6 separate regions of the Homo sapiens genome follow, and all the other regions are linked to region 3. Evidence: promoter capture Hi-C in 16 types of primary human blood cells and fetal thymus (Javierre and others, 2016). All regions are on one chromosome and are shown on one strand. The core of a region is centred on a gene start or on the middle of the fragment in contact, and the rest is flanking DNA. Distances in the headings are between cores, read along the strand shown. Region 1 overlaps CD58 (CD58 molecule). Region 2 overlaps IGSF3 (immunoglobulin superfamily member 3). Region 3 holds the start of CD101 (CD101 molecule). Region 4 overlaps IGSF3 (immunoglobulin superfamily member 3). Region 5 overlaps LINC02868 (long intergenic non-protein coding RNA 2868). Region 6 overlaps LOC112268235 (a long non-coding RNA gene).

Evidence for each region. The method cuts DNA at HindIII sites, captures the fragments that hold promoters and counts their contacts. A CHiCAGO score of 5 or more calls a contact.
Region 1: a contact is called between a fragment that was not itself captured here and the fragment with the promoter of CD101 in region 3, in 2 of 17 cell types (M2 macrophages and M1 macrophages). The highest score is 5.1, in M2 macrophages.
Region 2: a contact is called between a fragment that was not itself captured here and the fragment with the promoter of CD101 in region 3, in 1 of 17 cell types (M1 macrophages). The highest score is 6.8, in M1 macrophages.
Region 4: a fragment that was not itself captured here is called in contact with the fragment with the promoter of CD101 in region 3 in 2 of 17 cell types (activated CD4 T cells and M1 macrophages); the score reaches 5.7 in activated CD4 T cells.
Region 5: a fragment that was not itself captured here is called in contact with the fragment with the promoter of CD101 in region 3 in 6 of 17 cell types (total CD8 T cells, activated CD4 T cells, M2 macrophages and 3 more); the score reaches 7.0 in total CD8 T cells.
Region 6: a fragment that was not itself captured here is called in contact with the fragment with the promoter of CD101 in region 3 in 1 of 17 cell types (M0 macrophages); the score reaches 7.0 in M0 macrophages.

What each region holds. Positions count from the first base shown.
Region 1 is chr1:116,550,550-116,554,423 of GRCh38, forward strand. All of the region lies in intron 1 of CD58 (CD58 molecule), which reads right to left. LOC105378925 (a long non-coding RNA gene) reads left to right here. Exons shown (of 3, transcript XR_947739.2): 3 at 1-3,874. Among named protein-coding and RNA genes, the nearest start is that of MIR548AC, 7.6 kb to the right of the region's middle. The HindIII fragment of the contact is 1,762 bases long and covers 1,525-3,286 here.
Region 2 is chr1:116,594,486-116,598,012 of GRCh38, forward strand. The region is part of intron 7 of IGSF3 (immunoglobulin superfamily member 3); the gene reads right to left. It overlaps LOC105378924 (a long non-coding RNA gene), which reads left to right. Exons shown (of 3, transcript XR_947737.3): 2 at 499-583; 3 at 848-1,256. Among named protein-coding and RNA genes, the nearest start is that of CD58, 25 kb to the left of the region's middle. RefSeq lists a silencer at 2,379-2,438. The HindIII fragment of the contact is 514 bases long and covers 1,175-1,688 here.
Region 3 is chr1:116,999,332-117,003,023 of GRCh38, forward strand. It overlaps CD101 (CD101 molecule), which reads left to right and starts at 2,429. Exons shown (of 10, transcript NM_001256106.3): 1 at 2,429-2,529. The coding sequence starts at 2,487. The HindIII fragment of the contact is 2,275 bases long and covers 578-2,852 here.
Region 4 is chr1:116,662,674-116,666,592 of GRCh38, forward strand. IGSF3 (immunoglobulin superfamily member 3) reads right to left here. Exons shown (of 11, transcript NM_001007237.3): 2 at 3,611-3,919. The coding sequence starts at 3,653. Among named protein-coding and RNA genes, the nearest start is that of IGSF3, 3.1 kb to the right of the region's middle. The HindIII fragment of the contact is 760 bases long and covers 2,290-3,049 here.
Region 5 is chr1:116,698,347-116,702,128 of GRCh38, forward strand. The region is part of intron 2 of LINC02868 (long intergenic non-protein coding RNA 2868); the gene reads left to right. Among named protein-coding and RNA genes, the nearest start is that of LINC02868, 6.1 kb to the left of the region's middle. The HindIII fragment of the contact is 2,596 bases long and covers 634-3,229 here.
Region 6 is chr1:116,495,446-116,498,817 of GRCh38, forward strand. All of the region lies in intron 1 of LOC112268235 (a long non-coding RNA gene), which reads left to right. Among named protein-coding and RNA genes, the nearest start is that of LINC01762, 18 kb to the left of the region's middle. The HindIII fragment of the contact is 1,376 bases long and covers 1,160-2,535 here.

The sequences.
Region 1 (3,874 bases), core at 1,156-3,655, 450 kb before region 3:
TCCATGAGGATCGGAATCAAATTCTTCCAAACTCCTGTTAATATTGATATTTTGACCTGACGATTGGAATCAAATTCTTCCAAACTCCTGTTAATGTTGATATTTTGATCTTCTCCCATGAACCACAAATATTCTTAATGACATCTAGAATGCTGAATCCTTTCAGAAGGTTGTCAATTTACTTTGCCCAGATTCATCAGAAGAATAATTATCTATGGCAGCTATAGCCTTACCAAGTGTATTCCTACATAATAAGACTTCAAAGGCAAAATTACTCCTTGATCCATGGGCTGCAGAATGGATGTTGTATTAGCAAGCATGAAAACAACACTCATCTCCTTGTACATCTCCATCAGAGCTCTTGGGTGATTAGGTGCATTGTCAACAAGCAATAATATACTGAAATGAATCTTTTTTTTCTAAGCAGTAAGTATTAACAGTGGGCTTACAATATTCAGTAAACCATGCTGTAAACAGATGTGCTGTCATCCAGCCTGTTGTTCCATTTTATAGAGCACAAGCAGAATAGATTTAGCCTAATTCTTAAGGGCCCTAAAAATTTTCAGAGTGGTAAATGAGCACTGGCTTCAACTTAAAGTCATCAGCTGCATTAGCCCACACAACAAGAGAGTCAGCTGTCCTTTCAAGCCTGAAGTTGACTTCTCCTGTCTAGCTATGGAAGTCCTAGATGGCATCTTCTTCCAGTAGAAGGTTGTTTTGTCTACATTGAAAATCTGTTGTTTCATGTATCCTGCACCAGTAATCTTAGATCTTCTGGATAATTTCTTGCAGCTTCTACATCAACACTTGCTGCTTTACTTCACAGTTTTATGTTATGGAGATGGCTTTCTTCCTAAGATCTCATGAACTAACCTCTGATAGCTTCAAACTTTTCTCCTGCAGCTTTCTCACCTCTCTCAGCCTTCACAGAACTAAAGAGAGTTAGGGTCTTGCTCTGGATTAGGCTTTGGATTAAGGGAATGTTGTAGCTGGCTTGATCTTCTATGCAGACTACTCGAACTTTCTCCATCTGCAATAACGCTGTTTCACTTTCTTATTTATGTGTTCACTGAAGTAGCACTTTTAATTTCCTTCAAGAACTTTTCCTTTGAATTCACAACTTCACTAACTCTTTGGCATAAAAGGCCTAGTTTTCAGCCCATCGTGGCTTTTTTTTTTTCTTTCTTTCTTTTTTTTTTTTTTTCTTCAGACAGAGTTTCATTCTTGTAGCCCAGACTGGAGTGCAATAGTGCCATCTTGGCTCACTGCAACATCTGCCTTTCAGGTTCAAGCGATTCTCCTGCCTCAGCCTCCCAACCAGCTGGGATTACAGGTGCCCACCACCACACCCAGCTAATTTTTGTATTTTTAGTAGAGACGGGGTTTCGCCATGTTGGCCAGGTTGGTCTCAAACTTCTGACCTCAGGTGATCCACCCACCTTGGCCTCCCAAAGTGCTGGGATTACAGTTGTGAGCCACCACGCCCGGCCACCTGTCATGGCTTTTCACATGCCTTCCTCACTAAGCTTAATCATTTCTAGTTTTTAATTTAAAGTGAGAGACAGTGCAACTCTTCTTTTCACTTGAGCACTTAGAAGCCATTGCAGGGTTATTAAATTGGCCTAATTTCAGTATCATTGTCTCAGGTGACAAGGGAGGCCAGGAGAAGGAGAAAGATGGGGAGAACAGCCAGTCAGTGGAGCAGTCAGAACACACATAGCATTTATCAATTAAGTTCACCGTCTTATACGCATGGTTCTTGGCATCCCAAAACAATGACAACAGTAACATCAAAGATCACTGATCACAGATCACCATAACAGATATGATAATGAAAAAGCGTTAAATATTGTGGGAATTACTAAAATGTAACAGAGAGACAAAACATAAAGTTAGGCACTGATGGACTTGCTTAAAGCTGGGTTGTCACGAACCTTCAATTTGTAAAAAGCACATTATCTGTGAAGTGCAATAAAGTGAAATGCAATAAAAGGAGGTGTGCCTGAGGGATTTACCATTCTTTAATAAAAATGGTCTTATGCACACTTCTCTACATCCCGCCTTTCCATTAATATGTCATAAAATCTCCTTGAAATCAACTGGTATAGCTATACTTTATTCTTTTTAATAACTACATAATATTCCAGAGCATGAGGGAACCATAATTAATCTGCCATCCACCACTGATGAACACTCCTTTTGTGGCTAGCTTTGTCTATTGCAGTTACACCGCAATAACTATCCTGTACATATGTCCTGATGTATTTATGGTTTCATATTTATGTGGGAGTAGAGTGGAGCTGGGAGTTGCTACATCAAAAGGTAAATAGATTTTTTTTATTTTAATAGAAGTTGCTGCATTGTTTACAAAAAAGACTTTGGCAATTTACATCTCCATCAGTAATGCCTGAGTTGCCCTTTCCTTGGACTCCTGACAGCATTAGGTAATTTTTTTTTTATGTTTAATTTTTGGGCAAATAGTGACATTTCATTGATACTTGAATTTGCATTTTCCCAACCTTTAAAAATTTAAGCATCTCTTCTGCTTGTTGATTTGGATTTCTTTTTCTGAGAAATGTCTTTTCACATCCTCTTTTTTTGTATTAGATTGTTTGTTTTTTTCTTCTCAAAGTTTAAAGGCTCCTTATATGTTATATATTTTTATCTGTATTATAGTTTTTTTTCAAATACAGCCTTTGCCTATTGAATTTACTAAATGAATATCTTCCATACAAAGTTTCTATATTTTTACATAATGAAAGTGTTTATCTTTTCTGGCTATGGTGTGGAAGACTGATGGGAGGGGTAAGACTAGATAGCAAGAGATCCATCAGACAGCAATTTCAGACTGGTCAAGAGGCAGCATTGTGCTAGGCAAAGTGGTTCAAGAGACATTAGGGAGGTAAAACTGGGAGAACTAGATGATTGACAGCATATGGGGTAAAGGAGGAGGAGAGGAGGTGCCAGGAGGGCCAGGATGAATCACAGCTCTTACTTCCTCCTAGGTGGGTTGTGGTGTCTTTCCCTAAGAAAGGAAACACAGCAGGAAGACTAAGACTGGCCTGGAACATCATGCTTTCAGTTTGACACTGTTCAGTGTGAGGGGTCTGTGAGACATCCAAGCAAAGATGCCCAGTAGCTGCTAAGTACACAGGTCTGGGACTCACAGGAAAGGATACAGATTTGGGAGTCATCACATTTCTAGTGGCTCCAATGGAGGCCATTAGGACCATCACCTTGGGAGAGCGTATGAAGTGGGAAAAGGCAGCTTGGACCTGTGCTTTAAAGCTTGGCTAGAGGGGAAAACACTGGCTAAGGAGACTGAGAGAGACCTGGGAAGTAGAAGAAAGGCCAGGAGGGGGATGGCATCATAACTCCAAGACAAGAGTCAACATGTGGAGACTTGACTGAATAAAAGGCACTAGTGATATTACTCAGATAGTAGGAAAAAGATGGAAGAAAATTCAAATGTAAGCAGAATTAAACACACATACAAAAACACATGCATACAATTTATTTTTGCTTATGCTCTAAAAGAACCTGTAGTTTCACTGAATACTGGGATCTGGGTGATATTTATTCAGGATGTTAACAAATAAAACAATAGTATAACCTACATAAAGAGATATGCATAATGATATTCATTTTAAAGTTATCTATACTAGTAAATAATAATCTAGTCTAATAGTTAAACAATTTAGTATTATGCCATGGCTTACTATGTGGTTATTTTAAAAAAGGAAACAGGATATTCTCCTTTTATTATTGGGAATTTGGAAAATTTCTTAATATTAAAAATAAAAAGTTATAGAAATATATATGCAGAATATTCCTCTTTTTAAAAACAATAAAGAGGCCAGATGTGGTGGCTCAT
Region 2 (3,527 bases), core at 182-2,681, 410 kb before region 3:
ATCTGGTCCTATGTGCTCAGCACTATTCTAAGCACTTTATAAATATTAACTATTTGGTCCTCACCAATCCTATGAAATAAATATTATTCCCAATTTTATAAAGACACTTGCCCAAGGTCACACAGCTGGCTTAGTGGTAGAGCTGGAATTCAAACCCAGGCCGTCTGGTCTGTCCTTGCTTTTAGCTATTACATATGCCCACCCTCACCCCATGCTCCCATGTACAAAAGGGACTTCTTGATCCCTGCCAGCTTGCCTGGGGGTGAACCCTCCCCAGACCCCATGCTTTAGTCATCTCAAGATAAGCATGCTGCTCCCACCCTCCGTGACTATATTTATTCACACTCTTCTCTGAGCCTGAAATGCTCCACTCCTCCTTCCCAACCTCCCACCCTCACCCCTACCCCATTCCCTCCTCACGCCCCCTGCCCCCGTTCATGCCCTGTGCTGGCTCTGCCTCCACACCTGTAACGCTTTTCTGCTCTCCTTTGTCCCTAGGCCTGCTGCCTCCCACAGAGCCCGCAAGGCAGGAACGTGACACACCCATCTCAGCAGCCTCACCAGCATGGCAACCTGGCACTTAGTAGGTGCTCAATGCATGCAGAGAGACAGGGAGGGAGGGGCAAGGGGAAAGCAGCAAGAGTCTGCAGGTGGAAATAGCTAATGAAGGTTACCCAGATGTGCCCTACCCTGCCTTACCTGTCTGCAGGTAGGGCAGTGACCCTGGCTCCTTGATGCCAATAACAAGTGCCCCGGTGTTACCATGACAACAGGCCTGAGGGATCTGGGAGGGGCTGAGCTCTCCTCTTAGGGCTCTTGCACTGACACCCATTCTATCTTGGCACAGACAACAGGCAGAAGCCACCTGGGATGGAAGAAGGAGAACCCCAGACTCCCCTGAAAGAAGGCAGAGGCCAGTCCTCTGAGGGATGGGGCAGCCATCCCTCAGAATGTGAAAGGAGAGCCAGTGTTCACATGCTCTGGACTCATGGAAGTCAAAGAAAAGCCCTCTGCTATCCCAATCTGCCGGGTCAGCAATAAGAAATAGAAGAAAACCGATTTGGCAACATCCAGAGGGTATTAAATATTCATCCTGACTGCCCATCAGTAAAATCCCAGCAGAATACACCCTCTGACAAGTCGGCTTTCCACCACTAGAGGCTGTCCTCATGGAAGCTTGTTTATGGCTTTGTCAATTTTAATGTACAATATTTAATAGCCAAACCAAGATATTGTCATAAACATTTGGAAAATGAGTGCTAACATTTCCCTTACTGCTTCTGTATTTAAGGATATGTAATTGGAGGGTGTTTTGAGCTAAAGAAAATCAGAAGGAAGCAAGGCAATTATGCTTCACAATTAAAAGAGAAAAGAACTGATTAAGAGCTAATAATCAAACATGTGAACTGGCTGAAAGTCTTGCCTAAGCACCCCTTGAGGGGTCACACTATGTGATCAATGGGGATCAGACTAAGCTAGATCAATGGCAACGTTGACAGTGATGGCATTCCTTGAAGATTCTGTTGGGGATATGCATATGCAACAGGAAGCACACACAGGGAATGGTCAAATAACAGATCCACAAGTCAACTGTGCCATCCAACCAGAGATTCTGATGAATACTGATATGGGGGCAGGATCAGCAGGTGGCTCCAGCAGGGACGAGTCTGGGGCACAGACCACAAAGAAGCTTGCTGCGATAAATGATATCACAGCAGTGGAAGGCTGATGGTAAACAGACCAGCATGAGTGAGTCAACAGTCCCTGGGTTCCTATTTGATTCTGATGGAATAAGAATATTTAACACAATATTCTTTAAAACGGGGGTAGCAGGGGACATTTCTATGGAAGACACCAGAGCAGGGCTAAGAATCTATGTTTTGAGGGGCAAGGTACGCAGGGAGAGCAAAAGAAGAGAGGACAGCGCTGGTTCGGAGCTCTGGTATCCGCAAGTCTTAGAGCCACCTTGTGGCAGAAGCTGGAAGAATCAGGAGTTAAAAGAGGCACAAGATAAAACTTCTACACCATCAGCAAACTGTGTCTTGAGGAACCTCTACCAATGTCTTATGACCCCAACTTCCAAAAAACAAATTTAAGGATTTGCTAAAGGGGATTAGGAAATCAGGGGTGGTTAACCAGAGAGAGGAAACATTAAATACAAGTATACAGTACCAAAGAGGATTCCTGAGAAGAAAAACACTTGTCTAGAACATATAATAATAAAATTAGGAACTTGGACTCTGGAGCCAAACTGCCTGTCTGGACTTGAATCCTGGCTCTGCCACTTACTATGGCACACTGGGCAATTTATGTAACTTCTGTGTCAGTGTCCTCATCTGTGAAGTTGGGTAAAACGGTCCCCCTCACAGCACTGCATGGATTAAGAAACGAGGAACCAAAGCATTCACAGTGGTTTACAAGAAATGCTCAGTGAATATTAGCTGCTACTGTTGTTACTACCAGTAACACTAGTGCTATAACTCCTCCACATCATCAATCTACAAGGAGAAAATTCTTCTGTAAAGGACACGATTAACTGAATGCTGAAAGAATAATCTCTGATTACATAGCCTTTAAAAGGTCAAAGTCTCCCTACCGCAATTACTCTTTAACAAGGCACACCTGGATTCAAATCCCAACTTCCCCCATTCACTAGGTGTTTAATTTGAGGAAGTGAGAATCTCTCAGAGCCTCTGTTACTTCATTTATAAAATGGGAAAGCAATATGTTCCTCCCAGGGTTGCAGTGAAGATTAAGTGAGGTAATATACACCAAGTGTCCAACAGTCTCCAGCGCACAGTCAGCTCTCATGTATTTTTCCACTTCTATTTCCCCAAAATGAATGCACCAGCACCAAAGTATATAGGAAAGAGTAAAAACTCATATGAAGCTCTCTGGAAAATATTAAGTGCTAAATGCATAAATATTTAATAGAGGAGAGACAGTAACACTTAAGGGGATGCACTCTCCTGGTGCCTCAGCTGCCCTCTGGGAGTCCTGCACGGCCTCAAGCACCCACCTTTGCTCTTCCTAGCCTCCAAAGGGCCATAAAAGTATATTACTGTGCACCTTTAAGTAGAGGCCTCTTAACAGCCCAAGTACAGTGATACTCATAAGTCTCCTCTGCCAACCACTGTTCATTCTCACTTTACAGTGAAAACACAACAGAAACCAACTCAAGACACCCAAGACACAAAGACGACCTCAGAGCAGATCTGGGGTCTCCCAACCCTCCAGCTACTTTACCCAGGAGGCAATTATGGTATAAAGGAAAACATTTGCTCTATGGAAGTCAGAGATACCTGGGCTCCAATCTCAGTTCAAATCTCAGTTTTGCCACTTAACCAGCTGGCTTGCCTCCATCAAGATTCCCAACCACTTTGAGCCTTGGTTTCCTCATTAGCAAAATAGGGATACAAACACCTACATTATTAGGTTGTTGGATAAATTTAAAAAGAAAACATGAGTAAAGCACTAAGCAGAAACCTGGCATCCAAGAGGTACTTCATACATATTTTTCCCTGTCT
Region 3 (3,692 bases), core at 1,179-3,678:
CTGGGATTACAGGCATGAGCCACTGCGCCCGGCCTCTGTCTTTATTTTAAATGCCCTACTTCAGGCCCTTATTATTGCTCATAGAGACAACTACAAAAACCTTGTAACTGACCTTCTTGCTTCTAGCCTTGTCTCCCTTCTTCACCTTTCAACCTGTTAGCAATGCACACATACAGAATTCAACTTAAAAGGAAAAACGGAAAATCCAACCAGGCTATACTACCACTAAAAATCTTCATAGCTTCCCTCTTCTTTGAGGTATTAATAAAAGCCAAGCTCTTAGGCTTGGCACACGAAGCCCACTAAGATCTGCCCATCCTACCTGTATAGATCCTTCTTTCACAACAACCTCAAACTTCATTCCAACAAGATAGTACAGCCTGTGTGTTACTATTCATGCCACACGGTTTTTCCCCAACTGTACCTTGGCCCCCTGCCTCTCTAGATGACTCATTGACTCACCTGGCCCAGCCCAATCCATCTTGACCTTCCCTCCTGCCTACCAATTTTCCCCACCCCCTATAGGTGCCCCACTGATTGTTGACACATTGCATTGTGATTATCTGATTTAAGTGGAAGCTTCCTGAGAACTCTAGCACTAGCGTAGTATTAGTCTAGGTTCAGGGCCAACTGTTGCATTTAGATACTCCTCTGCCATCCTTGATACCTGGGTTCACATCGGTGTAACTGCCCATTAGCGTAACTGCCCAACAGGTTTCTCCTTGCCTGCTGCCCAGATAGAACAGACTTATCAAGACAGGAGAATTGCAATAGAGAAAGAGTTTAATTCACACAGAACCAGCTAAATGGGAAACCAGAGTTTTATTACTCAAATCAGTCTCCCCGGAAATTCAGAGACTGGAGTTAGTAAGGATAATTTGGCAGGCCAGGGAGTGGGGAGTGCTGATTGGTCAGGTAGGAGATGAAATCACAGGGGATCAAAGGGGGTTCTTGCAGTCTTCCGTTCCTAAGTGGGATCAAAGAACTGGTGGAACCAGATCACCAGCCTGGATGGTGTCAGCTGGTGCATCAGGATGCAGGGTCTGAAAAATACCTTGAGCACCAATTTAGGTTTTACAATAGTGATGTTATCCCTAGGAACAGTTGGGGAGGTTGGAATTGTGTGGCCTCTGGCTGCATGACTCCTAAACCATAATTTCTAATGTTGTGGCTAATTTGTTAGTCTTACTAGGGAAGTCTGCTCCCCAGGCAAGAAGGGGGTTTGTTTCCAGAAAGGGCTGTTATCCTCTTTGTTTCAAAATTAAACTAAGCTAAATTCCTCCCAAAGTTAGTTTGGCCTACAACCAGGAATTAACAAGGGCAGCTTGGAAGTTAGAAGCAAGATGGAGATGGTGAGGTCAGATCCCTTTCACTGTCATAACTTTCTCACTGTTACAATTTTTGCAAAGGCAGTTTCACAGGGCAGATGAAGATTTACTTAAATGTCTCATGATGGTGATGATGGTAGCTAATATTCATTGAGCAGTTACTATGTACCAGATATTGTTCTAAGTGCTTTAAATAAATTAGCTTGAAACTATCATTCTCAGCAAACTATCTCAAGAACAAAAAACCAAACACTGCATGTTCTCACTCATAGGTGGGAATTGAACAGTGAGAACACTTGGACACAGGAAGGGGAACATCACACACCGGGGCCTGTCATAGGGTCGGGGGAAGGGGGAGGGAAAGCATTAGGAGATATACCTAATGTAAATGACGAGTTAATGGGTGCAGCACACCAACATGGCACATGTATACATATGTAACAAATTTGCACGTTGTGCACATGTACCCTAGAACTTAAAGTATAATAATAATAAAAAAAAGTAAAATACAAAAAAAAAGAAATAAAAAAATAATTAAAAAATTAGCTCATTTGGCATTCACAGTAATCTTACAGGGTACCTACTATTAGTATCCTCATTTTAGCAATGAGGGTTAGGAAAAGTTAATTAAGTTTTCTAAGATTGCACAGTTACTAAAACTAGAATCTGCATGCAAACCCAGGCAGCCTGACTCTAGAGCCTGTAACCTTCAGCACCACCTCATGTCGCCCCAAGTTCATGTTTTTCAGGGGCCTTCTCCCATTTCTCAGTCATTTCCTCTCTCAAGAGAGGAGGAGAAGGAAGGGCCAAGAAGACAACATTGCTGGTGCCTTTTTTATTTATTCAGTTTACCTAAATTCTCTCATCATTACCAAATGACACATACTGTGAGCCAGGTTGAGACCCATCTTTTCTTAGTTTTATCGATATCTGTTTACTTAACCACAAAGATAACTTTTTTACTCCCAAATTTGAGTGATTAGTAAAGAGCTACATAATGTAACCAGTTTTGCTTTTCACAAGACATCTCTATTTCTCAGTGGGCTGAAAACCACACTTTTGCTTCCTCTTTACTTTGCAGTGAGAGCACAGCATTTGTCACTCAACCTCTGAATGTTAGTGACACTATTGGGACGAAAAAGGACTGTGCTGGCCCAAATGGCAGGCATCTCATATGTGGCATCTTTCTTTCTCCTTCTGAGTAAGTTTCATAATCCTTTATGTTTCTCTTGTCACAGGAGTTCATCAACTCAGGGTGCTGAGTGATGGAACAGGACAATTTGGTCTCTACAGGAACAACTATGCCATATATTTCTGATGTTAGCAATAATTTTTGACTTACTAATGACAGTTCTTGGCTTACCTAGACATCCTTGAGTTCCAGGGAGTCACAATGCTTGGTTGAGTCCCATGCACAAGATTCCATTGGTTTTAACATTTGTGTGTGTTGCCAGATCTGTCAGTTTTGCTTGGCCCTGGCTTTACTCATCTTCCTGGGCCGATCATCCCAAGAGACAGTAAAAAAGCTTTGTGTCCCAAACTGAGAGGAGACCTTAAGGTTTGCCTGATATTAAGGCTTGATGGGATAACTATGCCTTGCAGATATGACTGGATGGAAAGAAAGGTTATGAAAGTACTTAGTAGTTTTAGACTATGCTAAAAGAAGGTTCTAGATTTCACCTGCGAGTGGAAGTGGAAATTGACTACTGAGAGACTGAGAAATGAACAGGAAGATTCACTTGGCTCTACTGAGGGCCATGCAGAGGGGCTTGCCTGATCTAGGGGCATTTATCTATGTTTGAATAGGATGGAAGAAGAGAAAATTTGGAGGTAGAAGGGAGAGTCAGATGAGTTGAGCAGGTAATGGAATAGTTTCAAACCAGATAGCAGGTACTTTTTATGCTACAGTTTTCATTAACATCTGGTAAAGAGAATAGACTCCATCTCAGAATAATGTTTAAAATGCATAAAATAAAATGCATAGAATTACAGAGGAAATCAGTCACATTGAAATACAGGTATCAAAATATTTTAAATAAATTATAATGCAGTAATTTATTTGCTTCTTATTTATGCATTACATAACAAAATCTACAGGTAGGTCTTTTAACCACCAAACTTCAAAGTAATGATGAGTATAAATAACATTTCAATATATCTTAAGTAGTTGTAATGTGATATGAAGATATCTGTGGTTGTCTACATACATAACTGAAGAAAATACTAAATTTCCATTAGAGGCAAAAATGAAAATAAAGATGTAAGATTATTTTTCACCCTAGTTTATGGACCCTTTAATCCTACATGTGGACCCAGTTAAGAACTCTTGCTTTATAGCTGGGCATGGTGGCACATACCTGTGGC
Region 4 (3,919 bases), core at 1,420-3,919, 340 kb before region 3:
CCTGCACCCTTGTCAAATGGTCCCCAGGAAAGGGAAGTGCACTACCTCTGGGACAACTATTAGGACAGTGGTGTTTGTTCATCCATAAATCACAATCCTCATCCCCTTCTTTCAGAACCCTTCTCCTGATTGCTCCAAACCATCTCACTTTTCTCTGCCTCCTCTTTCTCCTCTGCCTTTGATCACTCCAGCCCTGCCTCTGAGGTCACACCCATAGTACTTCAAAGTTTCTTTCAATCCCTTTCAGAAGCCTTTTCTAACTAACTGGGAAGTAAGAGATGGCTTCCTCAGCCTTACCGTATTCAAAGAAGAGACTTCCCAAACTCTACAAATGAACTTCTCTCCCTCTGGAGCAGAACACAAATGATCATTTGCCATCTACAGGTTCTCAGATGTCCCAATCTCCTACATTTTTCATTGCTAACACTTTTAAAGCTATTTAATCTTGTTTGCAACATCAGCACTGGTCTGGGAGGTATATAACTCTTCCTGGCTACACAAAATCAAAATGTGCTGTATGTGTCTAAAGCTTATATTCATCTTTCCTGAGAATTTCCTTCCTGTTCTTACAGACACAAATCCTATGCTCTCTTTCCCACATTGCTGTCATCTTCCCATGTCACTGTCACTCATGCAGGCTGCTCCCAGACAGAGGCACTTTTCCAGTCACCCTTCCCTTCCTACCACTGTACCAGCCTCTATTCTCTCTCTAATCTTCTGCCCCTCTGGCCACATCTATCCTCAAATAGAGACTTTACTACCCTCATGGTTCAACCAGAGCCAGGCTTAAATGGCTTTGTAATTGGAACCAAGGGTTGTGGTGGCAGAGCCATGCACTGCCACCACAACCCTTATTGGGTGAGGCACCTAGGGTTAGGACAGAAGGAAACAACACACAGAGGTCAAGGGGGTAGGTACAAAGACAAAGGGTAGGACAAAGACATAAGCAGGAATCAGTATCCCAACAGACAGAAAAGAGGAATCTGATTCCAATCCCAGACACTGGCAAAGGACAGGTGCAGAAAAGCACAGGTCTGTCATGTTGAGGGAGATGAAAGCGTCTCCGAGATTTACCCTGTATACCCCTCACATACTGTCCAGGGTTTTCTAACTAAAATTGCCATTTCTAGAGGCTGGTACCTGCATCGGTCTCACTTTCAGAGCACTTAGCCTTATCCAACTTTTTTAAACAAAATTTTATTCCAGGCATGTGACCTATATGGGCTTAAAACCTTGGGATTCTTCGCTGTTTTAAATTCATACTACACATTAATTCACATTATGCAGCAAGAATGCTGACACATGAACCAGACCACATCAGAAGACAAGCAGGAAATAAGACCCCAACATGGGTTTTGCTCCCTCCCCAAACGCCTTCTACCTCTCCCAGATTAGTAAAGTAGTAGCCAGGCCTCCTTCCTGCCATACTGAGAGCCATCAGGTGAAGAGAAAGATGAGGTTCCACCAGTGGGGCTCCAAATCAGGCAGAGATCCACATGCATGCCTACAGTTCCAAACCTTCCCACTTCAGCCTGCATCTGGATGTCTGCCACTGTGCCCCTTTAAAGCCACCTTGATGCTCATTTTCCTCCATGGCACCTGTTTACACATGAAGATGAGGGTGGAGGGAAAATGACAGCACCTGCCAGGTGCCAGGGCCCGAGCTCCACTCCACAGAGTGGCCCAGAGAGCGAACAGCAGGGGGACCAGCATGCAGCCTTACATTACTTGAGCAGCCAGAAGAAACAAAAGGCACAAATGTCACATTGCCTTGTTTTCCCATTGATGGTTACTTCTCCTGCCCTGGGCCCCACCCTGCCACTCAGCCCTCTTTCCCGCCTTAGCCACACACCCCACCCCACATCCAAACCTCCCCAAGGGCTTTCCTTGTTTGTGTCCTGTTGAATCCACATGAATCACTAATTGCTGATTTAAACCCAGACACTAAGCGAATGACACATACAGTACAACAAATACAGATCCAATATGAAGAGACTGGCAAATGAAGGGCTCCCTGCCTTCTTGACTCTGCCTGAGCATACAGGTGACATGGAGACACTGCCTGTATCCCAGCCCACAGCTGAACAGAAGACTAACTAAACTACCAGCAGGGTGTCTGCATGCGTTGGGTGGTAGGGCACTGGCGCTAGTGAACTCACCCACTGGTTCTCTACTGAACCATGCATGGAATTACCTGAGATAGCTCAAAGGCTGAGACCTGGGTCCCACTCCCTAAGCGAGTTTGGTTTCACTGATCTGGGGTTGTTGCCTGAAATCAGAATTTTTAAAAGCTTCCCCAGTGATTCCAACATGCACACGAGAGTTTGAGAACCACTGATTGCACAAATCTATTATGAGTTTCAGACATTATTTAAGGCAGTCAAGGCATTTAGGACACCTTATATCCTTTAGTTATCACACCTTCCCTTGTTTTATTGTTTCTGTTTTATTGACATTCAGATGTCAATCATGGTGAAGCTGGGATAGGAACTCAGGTCCTCTAATTCTAAAGTCCATTCTCTTCCCACACACCTGTTACCTACTGCAAGGGTGTAGACAATGCATGGAAGCAATCTCCACTGCCAACAGATCACCCTAAGTTCCCTACGTGCAAGACACCTAGATTTGGAGACGTGAACCCTGTAGGCAACAATCATAATCCCTTCTGAATGCAGAGGACCGAGCCTTACAGAGAGGGCAGGGGGTGTGCTCATGTATGAGGTCTGAGATGGGGAAAGAGAATGGCACCAAATCCTGGCAATGAAGTTTATCCTAGACCTGAGATGTGTTCTAAGACAGCACGCTGAAGACAGTGCTCAATGGCATAAAAAGAATAGGCAATTGTTGAGCAGAGGGGCCTCTTCACTGGGGTGAAGGTCCTGCATCTGCACCTTAAGAGGGGTGTCAAAGGTTCACCTCTCAGGGCCATAGTTTCTTCTTCCCACTCTAGGCATTCTGATTTGTGGGAGCACAAAAGCCAATCCTAAAATCTCCCCTACCAGGCAGCTTCCTTTTCTTCAGGCTCTCCTTCTCCCAGAACTACGATCTAAGCTTCCTTGGTGAGGAGACACAGGACTAGTGCCCTCACATTTTTAGCCTTCAGACCACTCAGGTAGGCAAAGCATCCCTTCAACCCCCATCCCACTTACTCCCATTTCCACCTCAAAAAAGGCACCATCATTATCACCCAAACCAACTTTCGAGACAGAGGGGAATGATGTTCCCACTCCCAATTAGGAATCAATGCAGCCCAACAAAGAAGTGAAAACACCAGAGCATCCATGTTTGACATGCTACAAGACAGCAGCCCACCAGCCATGTGAAGTCCCTAAACCACAGATGTGCAGATGCAGGACCTCACCCCAGGGGCCAAGACAGACACTTTAAGAACAGCAAATGTTCCTTCTTATAGATAACAAATGATATTCCACCGTTGCTCTTGGGTTAGAAACGGGCCTCTTCGTACTCTACTCCAACCTGTGACACACACCGACCGCCTCCTGGTGTCCCCCAAATCCTAGTGTTGATGAAAAAGAACCACGAGAAATTACAGGAACCAAGAGCAGGTTAAACTTTCACATCGATTGCACTGATAAGCAGAGCCACTTACCCAGCACAGCCAGACAGCTCAGCACCGGGAAAAAGCACTTCATGTCGGCAGCCTCCAGGAGACACAACACAAGGCGCTTCCTCTTCTCCCAGCTCCTAATCTCTCATTTCTGGCAATCCACTTATAGCTCCAGAGAACAGTTTTGGAAATAGAACTTAACTCGGAAAATGGGAACAGATTAAAAAGAAGAGATCAGAAGGAGGGAGTTGGGGGGAAGGGGAGGAGTGGAGGCAAGTGTGAAAACTCCCCTATGCTACAGGAAGGGTCCACAACAATTCGGAAGTCGCTCCCGGCTCCTGCCACATCGTG
Region 5 (3,782 bases), core at 682-3,181, 300 kb before region 3:
AATCCCAGAGAAGAAATTTATGATTGGTTGAGCTGGGATCAGGTGTCCATGCCTGGACCAATCAACTGTAGGAAGAGGACAGAGAGTCACATAAAAACATGGCAGCTCTTATGGTAGTCATATTGATGATGGGAGGCTTTCCTAAAAAAAAAAAAAGGAGTGGGGAAGCTTTGGACAGACAGTCCAGTAAGCATCTACTACATTCTAGAGAGCGCTGGAAAAAAGACCAAAGGAGGCAAAGAAAGGGGGCCAGGAAAGATTGTGTGATGAATGAGTTGCATGTTGGAATTCATTGATTGACTCCTTGAAATTCAATATTCCATAGGATTCCTTAATGATGCTAAATGCTCCTGGTTCTTCTAGTTTTCTGATAGCTCTTATTCTGTCTCCTTGATTGTTCTGGATCCTTCTCTTCTCTGCACTGAGAATCTCCTCAAGATTACAGGCCCTTAGTTATGTATCTTGCCTCTAGAGAAGACAAATAGGTTCTTTCCAACTGCATAAACAGTATTCCCTGTCAGGACCCTCCTCTTACCTTCCAGAAGAAATCTACACTTGGATTTCCTTTAGTCACATTTAATGCCTTTCTAAAAAAGTGTGGTTCCTGAACCAGTCACATCAGAATCACCTGGAAGCTTATTGGAAATGCAGAATCTTGGGCCTTGTCACAAAACTACTGAATCAGAATCTGCATTCTAACAAGATGACCAGGTACTTTGTAAATCCATTAATTTGGAAAGCACCACTTTAAGCAATTAGAAATGGAACTCATAATCAACCTGCTCTCAGTGGCGAAATAAATGTTTTTTCACAATTTTCCTACCAGGTCAATGGCAACCCTGTCTAAAAACCCAGATTCACAACAACTCTCAAAATTACTTTTCCAATACTTTCTTGTCTTCATTACCTATGTCCAATCTATCACCAATTTGAACCTATTAATTCCACTGTCCAATTGGTCTGTTTTTCCTAACCATGCCTTCCTCACTTTCTGCAGGCTCTAATAGATGCATTTGCCAGTCAGCCTCCTCATTTAAAAAATGGGTCAAATAATGCTTATAATGCCTCATATACATATTTACATAGAATACAAATTTAATGTGTAATTATCTTCATCCTGGTAGGACTGGTTTTCCACTATGGCTTTGTATACAGTTGTAAGGGATATTGCAAATAACATATTATTAACCATAAAGTGCCAAAATCTATGAACAATTTTGATTTTAAATAAATTAGAAGGGATTAAATATTATTTCTAAAATTATTTTCCCTCATCTGCACTTTAATATGCTATAATGAGTAACAGAGAAAGTGGTGGAATAATACCAGGTAGGCCAGGAATTATAGATAGGAGTGTCTTACACATGAGCATCATGTATCACAGAGGTCAGCAAACTCTTTCTGTGAAAGGCCAGATAGGATTTTAGGCCTTCTGGGCCATATGGTTCCTGTTACAACTACTCAACTCTACCATCATAATGAGGAAGCAGCCAGAGGCAATACTTCTTGATTACTGTAGCTTTAAAGTAAGTCTTGAAATCAAATTAAGTCCTTCAGTTTTGAACTTCTTTTTCAAAATTGTTTTGGCTAACATAGGCTATTTTAATTTCTTACAAATTTTAGGTTCAGTATTACAATTGCTTAAAGAAAAAATGCCTGCTGGGATTTTGATTGGGGTTGCATATAATCTATATATCAATGTGATGAGAATGGACAGCATAACAATATTGAGTTTTCCAATTCACAAACAGTTATGTGTCTCCATTTTTTAAATGTCTTTAATTTCTTTCAGTAGTTTTTTTGTAGTTTTTAGCATAGGTCCTATACATGCTTAGTTAAATTAATTCCAAAATATTATCTATTTCTGATGCTATTGTAAATGATGTTTTACATTTTAATGTCTCACTTATTTGTTGCTTGTATACAGAAATACAATTTATTTTTTATGTTGACTTTGTATTCTACAACCTTACTAAATTCACTTATTAATGTAGTAGCCATTCAGGGTAGACTTGTATTTTCTAGATAGAAAATTATGTACATGGCTGGGCATGGTGGCTCATGCTTGTAATCTTAGCTCTTTGGTAGGCTGAGGTGGGAGGACTGCTTGAGGCCATGAGTTTGAGACCAACCTGGGCAACACAGCAAGACCTCATCTCTATTAACTAAAAGAAGAAAAGAAAAAAGAAAAGAAAAGAAAATTGTGTACTATGTGAATAAAAAAAGTTTAACTTCTGTTTTTCTAATCTGTAAGATTTTTTTTTTTTTTTGGTCTTATTTTACTGGTGGGACACCAATATTAATGTTGAATAGAAGAGAAAAAACAAACATTCTTGCCTGGATCTCAATATCAATGGGAAAATGTTGAGTCTTCCAATATTAATTTACAGTATTTGCTCAGGTTTCTCATTGATTCCTTTATTAGGTTAAGATGGTTGTCTTTTATTCCTAGTTTACTGAGTTTTAAAAATCATAACAAGGCACTGAATTTCATCAGATGATTTTTCTGCATTGTTGTAAATGATCATAGGATTTTTCTTTTTTATTCTATTAATGTGATGAATGACAATGATTGATTTTCAAATGTTAAATAACCTTGCATGCCTGGAATAAACTCCATTCAGTCATGATGTATTATCATTTTAATTGTATTTCTGGATTCTAGTTGCTAATAGTTTGTTAAGAATTTTTTATCTATGCTATGTTCATAAGGAATTAGACTATAATTTTCTTTTAATGTCTTTGTCTGGTTTTGTTATTAGAATAATGGTGACTTCATAAAATGAGTTGGGAAGTATTTCTTCCCCCTCTATTTTCTGAAAGATTTTGCTTAAGATTGGTATTATTTCCTTTTTAAATGTTTGATAGAATTCATTATTTAATCTATCTAGGCCCAGAGTCCACTTTGTCAGAAGATTTTAAGTTATAAATCCAATTTATTTAGGCTTAACATAGAATTGTTGAAATTTTCTATTTCTTCTAGTGTCAATTTGAGTTATTCATGTTTTCAAAGGAATTATCCATTTCAACTAAACTTTTTAATTTGTTGGCATAAGTGGTTCATAATATCCCCTTTTTATTTTTTAATGTCTATAAGACTTATAATGATGTCCCTTCTTTTATTATTAATATTTATTTTTGTGTTTTTGCTTTTTCTTTCTTTATCCATCTTGCTAGTAGAAGTTTATTTTTTATTTTTAGGGGTTGTTTTCTCTTTAATGGAAAACAAAGCTTATTTTGAGGATTTTTTTCATTCATCAAACATTAGCTTGGAATTGATGACTGGCATAGTATTGGGAGTTTGGTTGGGGAGGGACTACAAAAATCAGAAGATAGTTTTTACTTTCTTGTTTTAAATTTTGTTCTATCAACTACTGAGAGGGGGTTATTAAAAATCTCAAACTATACTTTTGTATTTGTGTGTTTTTTCTTTCAGTTCTGCCAGTTTTTTCTTTGTGTATGTTCAAACTTTGTTGTTAGGTGCTCATACATTGAATATTGTAAGTATTCTTGATCAATTGACCCTTTTTTCATGATGAAATATTTCCCTTTAATCTGGAAGTATTTCTTTTTTTTTTTTTTTTTTTTTTTTTTGAGATGGAGTCTTGCTTTGTCGCCCAGGCTGGAGTGCAGTGGCGCGATCTCAGCTCACTGCAAGCTCTGCCTCCCGGGTTCACGCCATTCTCCTGCCTCAGCCTCCCGAGTAGCTGGGACTACAGGCACCCACCACCATGCCCAGCTAATTTTTTGTATTTTTAGTAGAGACGGGGTTTCACCGTGTT
Region 6 (3,372 bases), core at 598-3,097, 500 kb before region 3:
AGACGGGCTGGTTGATTTGAGGTGGCTGAGGAGATTGGGGGAGATGGGGAATTCTCATAGTCTCCAAACCCAGCAATTCCTTCCTGGGAGTTTTTTAAACATTCCTTCCTGGGAGAAGGGCCTCTGATGGGGACAGCTGATAAAGGAGCTGCCACCCCCTCCTCCAGCTCCCCACCCCCGTGCCCCACTGGAAGACAGGCTTGATTTCCACATCCTGCCTAGCACGGGCTTGGTGAAGCTGGCAGAAGCCCTCTCATCAGTCTCTGTTCTTCTGTCTGGACTGAACCCTCCAGCCCAGGCTTCAGGCCAGGCCTTTGTCTGAACAGATTCCCAGGCCCCACCCACCCTCGACTAACTGAATTTGAATCTTTGAGGGCACAGTCTGGGCATCTGCATATTCTGAAGTTCCTCGATGACCCCATGACCTGCCCAGTTTGGGAACCACTGGCTCAGGGGCCACATGGAAAAAAGGCCAGGCAGGGAGGGGCCGGGGCCTCTCAGACTTTGGGCTGGGCCATTTGTGTGATTCCCTAGTTCCCATCCCAGCCAGTGAGTTTCTTGGAGCAGACATTTCCTCTTACTTATCCCCTCTTACAATCCCCACACAGGGCTGGCCACGTTTAGTATGTGGGAGCTGAATTAAGTTTCCAAATCTCATGGCTCATGTCTGTAATCCCAATATTTTGGGAGGCCAAGGCGGGAGGATCACCTGAGCCCAGAAATTTGAGACCAGCCTGGGCAACATGGGAAGACCCTGTCTCTACAAAAATTTAAACGTTAAAAATATTTTTTAATTAAAATTTTGAAATGTCTCCCCTTCCTAGACCCTGAACCTGTTCAGTTCTCAAGTTGACATGTTCAGAGGCCTGGCTGGTAGAGCCCGGGCCTGGTCCCACAGAATCAGCATGGTCCTGAAACACAAGAGCACAGGAGGCAAAGCTGGAAGGGCCCTTAGAGAACCTCTAGTCCAATAGCTTTCAAATTGTAATCCTAGGTACCCTGGGGTCCCATGGTGGAACCTCAGAGAGCAGGAAAAGGGAAGGGCAGAGGCTCAGTGGGAGGAAATGCCGGCCCTCCCCCCACCTCCACCCTTCCTTCAACCAGGCCAGCTCTGCTTTCACAGCTTTGTGTGACTTTCGCAATAACCAAATGGCTTCCAAGCTTCTCCCCTTGCCAACCCCACCCCCAGCCCCTGTCTATTTTCCATCTGGTGTCCAGAATGATCATTTCAAAACATAAGGCTCATCATGTCCCTCTTCTGTTCAAGACCCTACATTTGGCTTTCCATTTCACTCAACAGCAATCCAAGGTCCTCTTCATGGCCGGCAAGTCCCACCTGTTCTCACCCCGGCTGCCCCTACCTCATCTCAGCCACGCTGGCCTCCTTCGTATCCCTGAATGCACCAAGCAGGCTCTTATCCGACACCTGGGCAGGTCTTCTTCCTTCTGCTGGAAACACTCTTCCCCAAATAGCTGCATCCCTTGCTTCCTCTTGTCCTGACCACCCTATCAAAAAAGGCATCCTGTTCCATCAGCCCAGCCCCTTCCTGTACTGTACTGACTGTCCCTACTGAAATATAGGCTCCACGAAGGGGAGGACTTTGTTTTTTTTTCACTGCTATGTCCCCAGCACCAAGAACAACAGTGGCTGGCACATAGTAGGTGCTCAATAAATAATGATTTCCTGATTTAATCAGATTGGTTTTGAGTCTAAAGTTATTTTGTACGTTTTCTTCTTTACACATTTCTCTATTTTTCAAATTTTCTGCAGTAAATATGCATGTTTTTACCATCAGAAAAAGCAGTAAATGACATAGTCTTTTCTCTAGGACCAATCTTTGGGAGACTCAGAGCTGCTAGAGAATAATTTAAGAAGATGAAGGGAGGCCCTGCCTTGAGCCCCTGGTTCTGAGCAGCACCAGGTCGGTCCTGGTAGACTATAACAATACCACTGATTCCTAATGGTGGATGGGGGAACTTAGTGGGGCTAAGCAGACCCCACTTACCTAACAGCATTTTGTCTTGGGGTCACTGGGGAAGGAGAGAGAAGGAGTGAAAACACGACCAGCAGCAACCCCCTCCCCACTGAAATGCACCAGGATCTCCCTAACCCGATACAACAGACATGAGGACATGGGCTCCCAAGCACCCTCCAGTAAGGCATTGTGGCCATAGGTCATTCTTTAACTGGCACAACTGGCTTTTCTCAGACAGACTTTCTCTTTATTTTCTTCAGGGACTATTACTCTGAGGCCTAGTACCTGCTGCCTCTGCTTATATGACTGAATCTAGAACAAAGAAGAAACATCTTAGCTGAGGGGTCAGGGCTCTGGCCTGACAGAAACCCTGTGGTCTTGTCTCCATGTCAGAGCCCCATGACTCCAAGTGGGTGGGAGTCCTGGGCTCGCCCATGACTCATTGTTCGAGTTCGTAGAGAACTCAGAAGTTCCATATGGAAGCACAGCCTCACAGGCTAGAGACAATTCAGGAAACGAAAGCCCCATTCACTTGATTATTGGTTCATTTTCTGATGGAAGCTTTGCTGATCCTCTTTCATAAGGACCATCTGAAATAGACAACTGAAAAGAGAACTAGGGGGCCATTTCCCTTCCCTCCTCTAGCCCCTGAGCTCGGTCATCAGAGTCATGTGGACCCTAGCCCCTGGAGCTGGATAGGGCCCAGGGGTCATCTGGCCACTGTCTGTTTCATTGTGACTTACCAGGCAGGCCCCCTGATACTCAGGGACACAGCTGCCTGCCTCCTGGGCTGACTTTCCTGCAATGCTCTAGAGCGGAGCCAGCCAGCTTCTCCAAGAAGCCGGTGGTAAATACTCGCTCTGGGCACTGTCACCTTTTCTTTGTTTTTTCCTTACAACCCTTTAGAAACATAAAACCATCCTGAGCTCACGGGCTTCACAGAAACAGGCTGTGAGGATAGGCAAAGTACAGCCCATGAGCAAGACCCAGCCCACTGCCTGTTTTTGTAAAATAAAGTTTTAGTGGACACAGCCCTGCTGATCTCTTGATGAATTGCCTATGGCTGCTTCCACGCTACTACAATCGTGGAATTCTGTAGTTGAGACAGAGCCTGTAAGGTCAATAAAGCCAAAAATAGTTTCTATCTGTCCCTTCATAGAAAACATCTGCCAAGCCCTTCTCTAAAGTTTCATATGCATTCGTTCCTATTTAACACTCAAAACAATTTTTGAGATTAGTATTAGAGATGAGTATTCCTAATCTTACAGATGAAGAAACCGAGAACGAGAAAGGATAAGGCTTGCTCAAGGTCACATGGCTAATGAGGGGCAGAACCAGAACCCAAACCCAGATCTCATCTCTAAACCAGGGCTTCTTCACCTGGTGAAGCCGCTCC